2 separate regions of the Homo sapiens genome follow, and region 1 is linked to region 2. Evidence: promoter capture Hi-C in 16 types of primary human blood cells and fetal thymus (Javierre and others, 2016). All regions are on one chromosome and are shown on one strand. The core of a region is centred on a gene start or on the middle of the fragment in contact, and the rest is flanking DNA. Distances in the headings are between cores, read along the strand shown.

Region 1 (4,885 bases), core at 1,206-3,705, 230 kb after region 2:
TGTTTGTTTGTTTGTTTAGAGATGGAGTCTTGCTCTGTCACTCAACCTGGAGTGCAGTGGTGCAATATAACTCACTGAAGCCTCAAACTCCTGAACTCAGTGCAGGACTGGACTCCTGGACTTTATTTTTTTTTACTCCATGTTTTTCTTGTTTATTTGAATCAATGGTTCTGTATGAATGCAATTTTAGGAAATATAAATATTCATCTTAGGGGACTGGCTAAATCTCAGTCTCTTGAGTAGCTGGGATTACAGGTGCATGGCGACATTGTTTCCCTTAAGTGAAAATGATTTTTTTTTTTTTTTTGAGACGGAGTCTTGCTCTGTCACCCAGGCTGGAGTGCGGTGGCGCGATCTCGGCTCACTGCAAGCTCCGCCTCCCAGGTTCACGCCATTCTCCTGCCTCAGCCTCCCGAGTAGCTGGGACTACAGGCGCCCGCTACCAAGCCCGGCTAATTTTCTGTATTTTCAGTAGAGACGGGGTTTCACCTTGTTAGCCAGGATGGTCTCGATCTCCTGACCTCGTGATCCGCCCGCCTCGGCCTCCCAAAGTGCTGAGATTACAGGCGTGAGCCACCGCGCCCGGCCTCTTTTTTTTTTTTTTTTTTTAAGACAGAGTCTCACTCTGTCACCCAGGCTGGAGTGCAATGGGCGATCTTCACTCACTGCAACCTCCGCCTCCCAGGTTCAAGTAATTCTCCTTCCGCAGCCTCCCAAGTAGCTGGGATTAGAGGCTGATGCCACCACGCCCAGCTAATTTTTGTATTTTTAGTAGAGAGGGGGTTTCACGATGTTGTCCAGGTCGGTCTCGAACTCTTGAGTTCAAGTGATCCTCCAAACTCGGCCTCCCAAAGTGCTGGGATTACAGGCGTGAGCCACTGCGCCCAGCCGATGTTGACTCTTTTAAAAGTTCAGGACAGGCTGGGCGCAGTGGCTCACGCCTGTAATCCCAGCACTTTGGGAGGCTGAGGCAGGTGGATCACAAGGTCAGGAGATCGAGACCAACCTGGCCAACATGGTGAAACACTGTCTCTACTAAAATACAAAAAATTAGCCGGGGGTGGTGGCACGCACCTGTAGTCCCAGCTACTCAAGAGGCTGAGGCAGGGGAATCACTTGAACCTGGGAGGCAGATGCCACTGCACTCCAGCCTGGAGACAGAGCGAGACTGTGTATCAAAGAAAAAAAAAAAGTTCAGGACAGCTGGGCACGGTGGCTCACTCCTGTAATCCCAGCACTTTGGGAGGCCAAGGCAGGTAGATTGCTTGAGCTCATGAGTTGGAGACCAGCCTGGGCAACATAGTGAAACCCCATCTTTACAAAAAATACAAAAATTAGCCAGGTGTGAGCCTGTGGTCACACTGGATGCGAGCCTGTGGTCCCAGCTACTCAGGTGGCTGAGGTGGGAGAATCCCTTGAGCCTGAGAGGTGGAGTTTGCAGTGAGACGTGGAGTTTGCAGTGAGACGTGATTGTGCCACTGCACTCCAGCCTGGGTGATAGAGCCAGACCTTGTCTCCAAAAGAAATAAAACAGCTGGGTGCGGTGGCTCACGCCTGCAATTCCAGGCCGAGGCAGGTGAATTATCTGAGGTCAGGAGTTCAGGACCAGCCTGGCCAACATGGTGAAACCCCATCTCTACTAAAAAATAAAAAATTAGCCGGGCGTGGTGGCACATGCCTGTAATCCCAGCTACTCAGGAGGCTGAGACAGGAGAATTGCTTGAACCTGGGAGGTGGAGGTTGCAGTGAGCTGAGATCGTGCCATTGCACTTTAGGCTGGGCGACAAGAGTAAAACTCCATCTCAAAAATAAATAAATAAATAAAATAAAGAAACAAATAAAACAAAGAGTTCAGGACATTGACTTTGTGGAATGTCCATTATTCTGGAGCTAATTGTTTCCTGTTTTTCTCTTTTAGCTCCTGTATTTTCTGTAAATTGGAAATTACACTAGGCCTAGAAGCTTAATTGGATTCAAATTCATCATATTTAGCAGGAAGATTTCATAGGTGATACTTTGTGTACTTAATCTTGCCTCACATCAGGAGGCACAAAGTCTCAGGCTGACTCATCAGTGAGGCTAAATTTGAACTTGCAGTTAAGGTAATGCCTGCCAGACTGCTCCACTGGAAAGGTATCTTTTCCCTTTTCTGAAAATTAGGTAATCTTGAGGGGTGATATTTTGCCTCTGCATAAAGACCCTCTTTCCAAGAAGAGAGCCTTTTCACCTGATTGTTGTGTTTTGGCATTAATTATATTTGTCTGAATCAATTATTCCCTTTTGCAGTTGTAAAGTACCCTTCTGATCCCTCCCTCCTCCTGTCACTATGGACTTATGTATTTTTATTCAATATATTAAATAATTGTTTTCCCAGTTGCCTTATTTGAATTTACATCCAAATAGGATCCATATATCTATAGAAGTTTGAGCAGAGGAGTGACAGCATTTGCCTAACTTTTTTTTTTTTTTTAGATAGGGTCTTGCTCTGTTGCCAAGGCTGGAATGAACTGATCTCAGCTCACTGCAGCCTCGACCTCCTGGCCTCAGGCGATTCTCCTATCTCAGCCTCCTGGTAGCTGGAACTACAGGCATGTGCCACCCACCACACCTGGCTAATATTAAAAAAAAATTTTTTTGAGACAGAGTCTTGCTTGGTTGTCCAGGCTGGAGTGCACTGGTGTTATCTCAGCTCACTGCAACCTCCGCTTCCCAGGTTCAAGCGATTGTTGTGTCTCAAGCCTCCTAAGTAGCTGGGACTATAGGAGTGAACCACCACGCCCGACTAGTTTTTGTATTTTTAGTAGAGGCAGGGTTTCACCATGTGGGCCAGGCTGGTCTCAAAGTCCTGACCGTAAGTGATCCGCCTGCCTTAGCCTCCCAAAGTGCTGGGATTACAGGTGTGACCCACCACTCCTGGCCAAAAAATTCTTTTAAAATTTTTTGTAGAGACAAGCTTTCACCATGTTGCCCAGGCTGGTCTCAGACTCCTGGGCTGAAGCAATCCGCCTGCCTTGGTCTCCCAAAGTGCTAGGACTACAGGCATGAGCCACCGTTCTTCTTCTTTTTTTTTTTTTTTTTTTTTTTTTGAGACAGAGTCTCACTCTGTCATCCAGGCTAGAGTGTAGTGGCGCAATCTCGGCTCACTGCAGCCTCCACCTCCCGGGTTCAAGTGATTCTCCTACCTTAGCCTCCCGAGTAGCTGGGATTACAGGCGAGCGCCACCACACCCAGCTAATTTTTGTATATTTATTGGAGACAGGGTTTTGGCATGTTGGCCAAGCTGGTCTTGAACTCCTGACCTCAGGTGATTCACCTGACTCGGCCTCCCAAAGTGCTGGGATTACAGGTATGAGCCACTGTGCCCAACAGAGCTACCTTTTTTTTCCCCCCCGAGACGGAGTCTTGCTGTGTCACCCACTCTGGAGTACAGTGGCGTGATCTCGGCTCACTGCAGCTTCCACCTCCCAGGTTCAAGCAATTCTACTGCCTCAGTCTCCCAACTAGCTGGGATTACAGGCGCCCACCACCACGCCCGGCTAATTTTTTGTATTTTTTAGTAGAGACGGGGTTTCGCCATGTTGGCCAGGCTGGTCTTGAACTCCTGACCTCAGGTGATCTGCCAACTTCAGCCTCCCAAAGTGCTGGGATTACAGACATCAGCCACCGCGCCCGGCCTAAGCCACCATTCTTAAAAAGGTCACTTTGACTGAAGTCTGTTGAGGATAGACTATGTGGCGGAGTGAAATCTGGAGACTACTGCATCATCCAGGAGTGAGGAAAGGGGCTTGGGCCAGGATAGTAATGTCAGTGGTGAAAAGTAAATCTGCTTTAATGACAGGATTACTTTAAATGAAAGAGGAGGATATGATGGCTTATGCCTGTAGTCCTAGCTACTCAGGAAGCTGAGGCAGGAGGATTGGTTGAGCCCAGGAGGTCATGGCTGCAGTGAGCCATGATTGCACCACTGCACTCCAGCCTGGACAACAGAGCAAGACTGTCTCAAAAAAAATACGGCAGGGCGCAGTGCTTCACGCCTGTAATCCCAGCACTTTGGGAGGCCATGGCAGGCGGATCACCTGAGGTTGGGAGTTTGAGACCACCAGCCTGACCAACATGGAGAAACCCCGTATCTACTAAAAATATAAAATTAGCCGGGCATGGTGGCACATGCCTGTAATCCCAGCTACTCGGGAGGCTGAGGCAGGAGAATCACTTGAACCTGGGAGGTGGAGGTTGCAGTGAGCCAAGATCGCGCCATTGCACTCCAGCCTAGGCAACAAGAGCGAAACTCCATCTCAAAATAAATAAATAAATAAATAAATAAATATATATACACACACATATATTAATATAAAATATAAATAAATGCAAGAGGAAATGAGATTGGTTATCTTTAGAACCTTAAATTCTGAAATACTATTTTTTCTCCTTCATGTTTTAAATTTTCTTGCTTTGTTTGAATCAATGGTTATGTACAAATGCAATTTTAGGAAACAGTATAAATATTCATCATAGGGGACTGGCTAAACAAATTACAGTTCTCTATTAATTTATTATTTTATATTATTTTATTTTATTTTATTTTTTGAGATGGAGTCTCACTCTGTCTCCCAGGCTGGAGTGCAGTGGTGTGATCTCAGCTCACTGCAACCTCCACCTCCCCGGTTCAAGCAATTCTCCTACCTCAGCCTCCTGAGTAGCTGAGATTACAGATGCCCGCCACCATGCCCAGCTAATTTTTGTAATTTTAGTAGAGACGGGGTTTCACCATGTTGGCCAGGCTGGTCTCGAACTCCTGACCTCAGGTGATCTGCTCACCTCAGCCTCCCACAATGCTGGGATAACAGGCGTAAGCCACCGCGCCCCGCCTATTAATTTATAATAG
Region 2 (5,091 bases), core at 1,448-3,947:
CCAGTGAGGATGAGGATGACAGTCTGAGCAATGGACCACCATAGGACCCTCTGGTTGGTGCTCTCGCTCGTCAGTCGGAAGCGCTCTTCACGATACTGTGTGGGGCAACACAGGGTTAAGTGAGCAGGAGAAACAGTCTGGCTGTTGTGAGGTCCCTCCCTGCGTGTAATTACTCAACTCCAGGACCAAACTCCTTTTGGAATACTATCTGTGACTCCATTAGGAGTGCTATGGTCTCCCCACTGAGGCTGCCCCAAGAAAGGGACAGGCTGTCCCTCCACAAGCATCTCTGTTAGGACTGAAATCATGATCCTACCATTTCCAACAAGAGTCCAAGAAAAACAGGTAGGCAATGGCTATTACTAGATTGTGAACTGTCCTTTCTTCATTTTATTTTATAGAGCTTAAAAATGACTACTGAAAGCGAAATGTGGCACATGCATACAATGGAATATTAGCCTTAAGAAATTCTGACACATGCTATAACATGGATGAACTGTGAGAACATTATACTCAGTGAAATAAGCCAGTCACAAAAGGACAAATACTGAATGATTCCACTTATATGAGATAGGGTAGTCAGGATCATAGAGACAGAAAGTAGAATGGTGGGTGTCAGGACAAAAGGAAACGGGAAGTTATTGTTTATAATAAGTACAGATTTGCTGGGTGCAGTGGCTCACGCCTGTAATCCCAACACTTTGGGAGGCTGCGGCAGTGGATTGCCTGAGGCCAGGAGTTCAAGACCAGCCTGGCCAACATGGTGAAACCCAGTCTCTACTAAAAACACAAAAATGAGCCACGCATGGTGGCACTTGCCTGTAATCCCAGCTACTTGGGAGGCTGAGGCAGGAGAATCGCTTGAACCTGGGAGGCGGAGGGTGCAGTGAGCCGAGATGGCGCCACTGCGCTCCAGCCTGGGCAACAGAGCGAGACTCCATCTCAAAAACAAAACAAAATAAGTACAGATTTTTAGTTTGAGAAGATGAAAAAGTTCTGGAGCTGGATGATGGTGTTGGTAGCACAACATTATGAAGGCACTTAATACCACTGAACTATATAGACAGTTAAAATGACACATTTGGTGTTATATTTTACCACAATAAAATGTTTTGATAAAAAAGCAAAACAGGCAGGGCGCGGTAGCTCACACCTGTAATCCCAGCACTTTGGGAGGCTGAGGCGGGCGGATCACTTGATGTCGGGAGTTCGAGACCAGCCTGACCAACGTGGAGAAACCCCCGTCTCTACTAAAAGTACAAAATTAGCCAGGCATGGTGGCGCATGCCTGTAATCCCAGCTACTCAGGAGGCTGAGGCAGGAGAATCGCTTGAACCTGGGGAGGCGGAGGTTGCAGTGAGCCAAGATCATGGCATTGCACTCCAGCATGGGCAACAAGAGTGAAACTCCGTCTCAAAAACAACAAACAAACAACCTATCTAAACCAATACTTCTCATTCCATTCTCTGCAGAGCTGATCTCCCAAGCAGAAACTTGAGTAGGTATAGTGGGTATAAAGGTCAACTGCCCTCTCAAATTACAAGGAGATATGCACTTGCCCTTTGGTAATCCTGCTCCTTCTGAATCTGTTCCACCTGATCAAGCAACTGGCGGGCGCGGAGCTGTAGCTCCGTCAGCTTATCTTTTGCAGCAATCTCAGGGTAGTTGTTGGCATGCTCCCCAACCTGGATGTCGAGATGCACCCGCTACAAGGAAACATGGAATGTATGAGTGGTGGGGCCTCCAGTTGTCTGTTCCAGGGTATGGAACCCACTATTGTCCCTGGCTGTGGAGCAGAAGGCAACATCTGTCTCCCCAATTCTGACTGTGCTACAAAGTTTCACAATCTTGATAAATCAAAATTTGGAAACAAGTGAGAGATTCTAAGCTGAAGCCAAAGAGAAAATCCTCTTACCAGTTTGCCACCAGCGAAGAGAGCCATCCTGGTAGAATTGGAGTGCAGACAGATTTGATGGTCACCGGGCGTGTGGGAGGTGAACGTGAAGCGGCCCTCCGAGCCGTACTGCCGGGACAGCACCACCTGCAACATATGTGAGTGAAGGCCCCACCTTTATACCGCAGGCTCTCCAAGTGCAAGTTCCTGTCCCTTGAGGCCTCCTCCAGGCAGTGCTTTACACCCCACGGGAGCTCCACTGAAGAACGGCTGCGTGGGCCAACGCCAGCCTTACCTTGCCGTCGGGGTCCTTCACTTCCACGTGCATGCCCAGGCCAGGGGTCGAGGGCAGGAAGACCTCCTTCTGCTTATCCCACATCTGGGTACGATAGTTGCCTGCGGGGCAGACACATAGTCACGACCGGCCCTAGTGGGCCGCCTCTCCGCCCGGCCCCCTCCGACGTGCGGCCCGGAGCTCTAGGCAGGGGGCCTGGCGTCCTCGGGGCACCCTCAGGCTAGGTACTGGGGGAGCCAGCGACCCGGCTGGGCTCGGGAGGAGGGAGCGCCGCCGAGGGCTGAGCTGGGTACAAAGGGCCTCCCCACCCTCAGCCCGCCTGACCGATGACCATGGTCTCGTCGGGGATTTCCTCGATGAAACAGCGCTTCTCGGTCTCGCCGATGTGGAAGTAGAGCCCCTGGGCGCCTGTGGCGCACAGCGCGAGAAGCAGCAGGGCCTGCCGCCCCATCGCCCGCAGAGGCCCAGCCCCGACACCTGCCATCGCGCCTCAGCCCCTAAGCGCCTGCGCACATTTGCGCATCGCTCTGCGCCTGCGCGCCACCCTAGCGACCCTGAGAGTTAGGGGAAGAGGACGCCTGCGCAGTGATATGTACTCGCCGTCTCCTGCAACTCCATCCGTACCGAACACTGCCGCGCCCCGCCCCCTCACACAGCCCGGCGCCCGCCTACCCCCGCAACGAGAGTAGAGGGCGCATGCGCAATGACGTTCGCCCTTAATTTCTCGCCCCTTACCCCGCAGCTTACCTCCGGCATCTCGCAGGGGAGGCACGCCTGCGCAGTCACGCCCGCCCTCGGCCCCAGTCAGCGATTTGGGTCTCGGAGCACCAAGGAGACGGTGGACGGAATCTGACCAGGCTTGGTGGCTACGATGGCCTGAAGCGTGCCTTTTGGGTTCTCAGCTCGGGCTCACAAGTGTTTTCTGTGCTAAATACAAAAAGCCCTGTGATGTTTTGCTTTGCGTGTCCACCTATCTGACTCGTAAGAACCGAGGCTGAATCCAGACCCACACTCTGTCACGTCGGGAGAGCCTGCCGCGGCGAGCCTCTGCGAGCGGGCATTTCTTGGGTGGGGACCAAAAGCCCAGTGCTGCCATAGTTTCGGATCATTCTTTTAAGAAGCTGGGGCCGGGCGCGGTGGCTGGCACCTGTAATCCCAGCACTCTGGGAGGCTGAGGCGGGCGGATCCCTTGAGCCCAGGAGTTCGGGACCAGCCTGGGCAACATGGTGAAACCCCCGTCTCTACAAAAAATTAACCGGTGTGGTGGTGTGCGCATGTAGTCCCAGCTACTTGGGAGGCTGAGGCAGGAGAATCGCTTGAACCCAGGAGGTCGAGGATGCATTAAGCAGTGATCGCGCTCCAGCCTGGGCGACCGAGGGTGATACCTTGTCTTAAAAAAAAGGTGGGAGAGTGGAACGAAAACTTGGAATAAGTAGGGTCATGGAGCTTGTTTACATCCCCTAGTTACAGCACATCCTTTTGAAAGTGAAAAACAAACTGGAATGTTACTTAGTGGGCATGGAATCGAAGCAACGGAAGGTTAAAACTGTTTTTATCAAGGCCAGGCGGGCGCGGTGGCTCACGCCTGTAATGCTAACACTTTGGGCGGCCAAGGCTGGTGGATCATCTGAGGTTAGAAATTCGAGACCAGTTGGGCCAACAAGGTGAAACCCCCGTCTCTACTAAAAATACATTTTATCAACAGAATTTCGAAACTTTTATATAATAGAATAATTACAATGAACTTTCATAAAGAACTTGAGCATACCTGGATTTTGGTATCCGTAGGGGTCCAGGAATTATCCCCCTTGGATAATAACGGAGGGCTGTACTCATCATCCAACTTCAACAACAGTTTGCTGCCTTTCTCATTTCATGTATCCCTTTCTGCATTTTTTTTTGAAGTGCTGTATATTAAAGCAAATCCTGGACATCATGTCATTTCACCTATAAATACGTCAGTGTGTGTCTCTAACAGATAAGGACTTTATACTATTATCACACCCACCAAAATTTTAAAAATTATTTAACATCACTTAATACCTAGTATGTGTTTAATTTTCCCCATTGCCTTAAAAAATTTTGTACATTAGATATTTAGGGTCCAAACAAGGTTTACTTACTGCATTTCATACAAATATATGTCTCTTAATATATAACAATTTTGGCTGGGCACAGTGGCTCATGCCTGTAATCCCAGCACTTTGGGAGGCTGAGGTGGAAGGATCACTTGAGGTCAGGAGTTTGAGACCAGCCTGGCCAACATGGTGAAACCCTGTTTCTACTAAAAATACAAAAATTAGCCAGGTGTGGTGGTGCACACCTGTAATCTCAGCTACTTGGGAGGCTGAGGCAGGAGAATTGCTAGAATCAGGGAGGTGGAGGTTGCAGTGGGCTGAGATGATGCCACTGTACTCCAGCCTAGGCAACAGAGTGAGATTCTATCTCAAAACAAACAAAAACAGGGCCGGGCGCAGTGGCTCACACCTGTAATCCCAGCACTTTGGGAGGCCAAGGTGGGCAGATCACGAGGTCAGGAGTTCGAGACCAGCCTGGCCAATATGGTGAAACCCTACCTCTACCAAAAATACAAAAATTAGCTGGGTGTGGTGGTGCTCACCTGTAGTCCCAGCTACTTGGGAGACTGAGGCAGAAGAATCGCTTGAACCCAGGAGGCAGAGGTTGCAGTGAGCCGAGATCATGCCACTGCACTCCAGCCTGGGTGAGAGAGAGACTCGTGTCCAAAAAAAAAAAAACAAACCATATAACAACATATATATATATTATACATATTATATATATATTATATATATAAATTTCCCCTCTCTTTTTGTTGTTTGTTATTCATGGCATTTACTTATTGAAGAAACTGGGTCATTTGACCAACAGAATTTTCCACTTT

The links. Contacts are between HindIII fragments. The CHiCAGO score rates a contact against its expected background, and 5 or more counts as called.
Region 1: a contact is called between a fragment that was not itself captured here and the fragment with the promoter of TMED4 in region 2, in 10 of 17 cell types (naive B cells, endothelial precursors, erythroblasts and 7 more). The highest score is 6.8, in naive B cells.

What each region holds. Positions count from the first base shown.
Region 1 is chr7:44,809,184-44,814,068 of GRCh38, forward strand. No RefSeq gene overlaps it. Among named protein-coding and RNA genes, the nearest start is that of PPIA, 15 kb to the left of the region's middle. The HindIII fragment of the contact is 991 bases long and covers 1,961-2,951 here.
Region 2 is chr7:44,579,534-44,584,624 of GRCh38, forward strand. It overlaps TMED4 (transmembrane p24 trafficking protein 4), which reads right to left and starts at 2,698. Exons shown (of 5, transcript NM_182547.4): 1 at 2,514-2,698; 2 at 2,190-2,290; 3 at 1,916-2,041; 4 at 1,560-1,706; 5 at 1-95. The coding sequence starts at 2,673. RefSeq lists silencers at 2,322-2,421, 2,822-2,981 and an enhancer at 3,072-3,181. The HindIII fragment of the contact is 9,471 bases long and covers 1-5,091 here.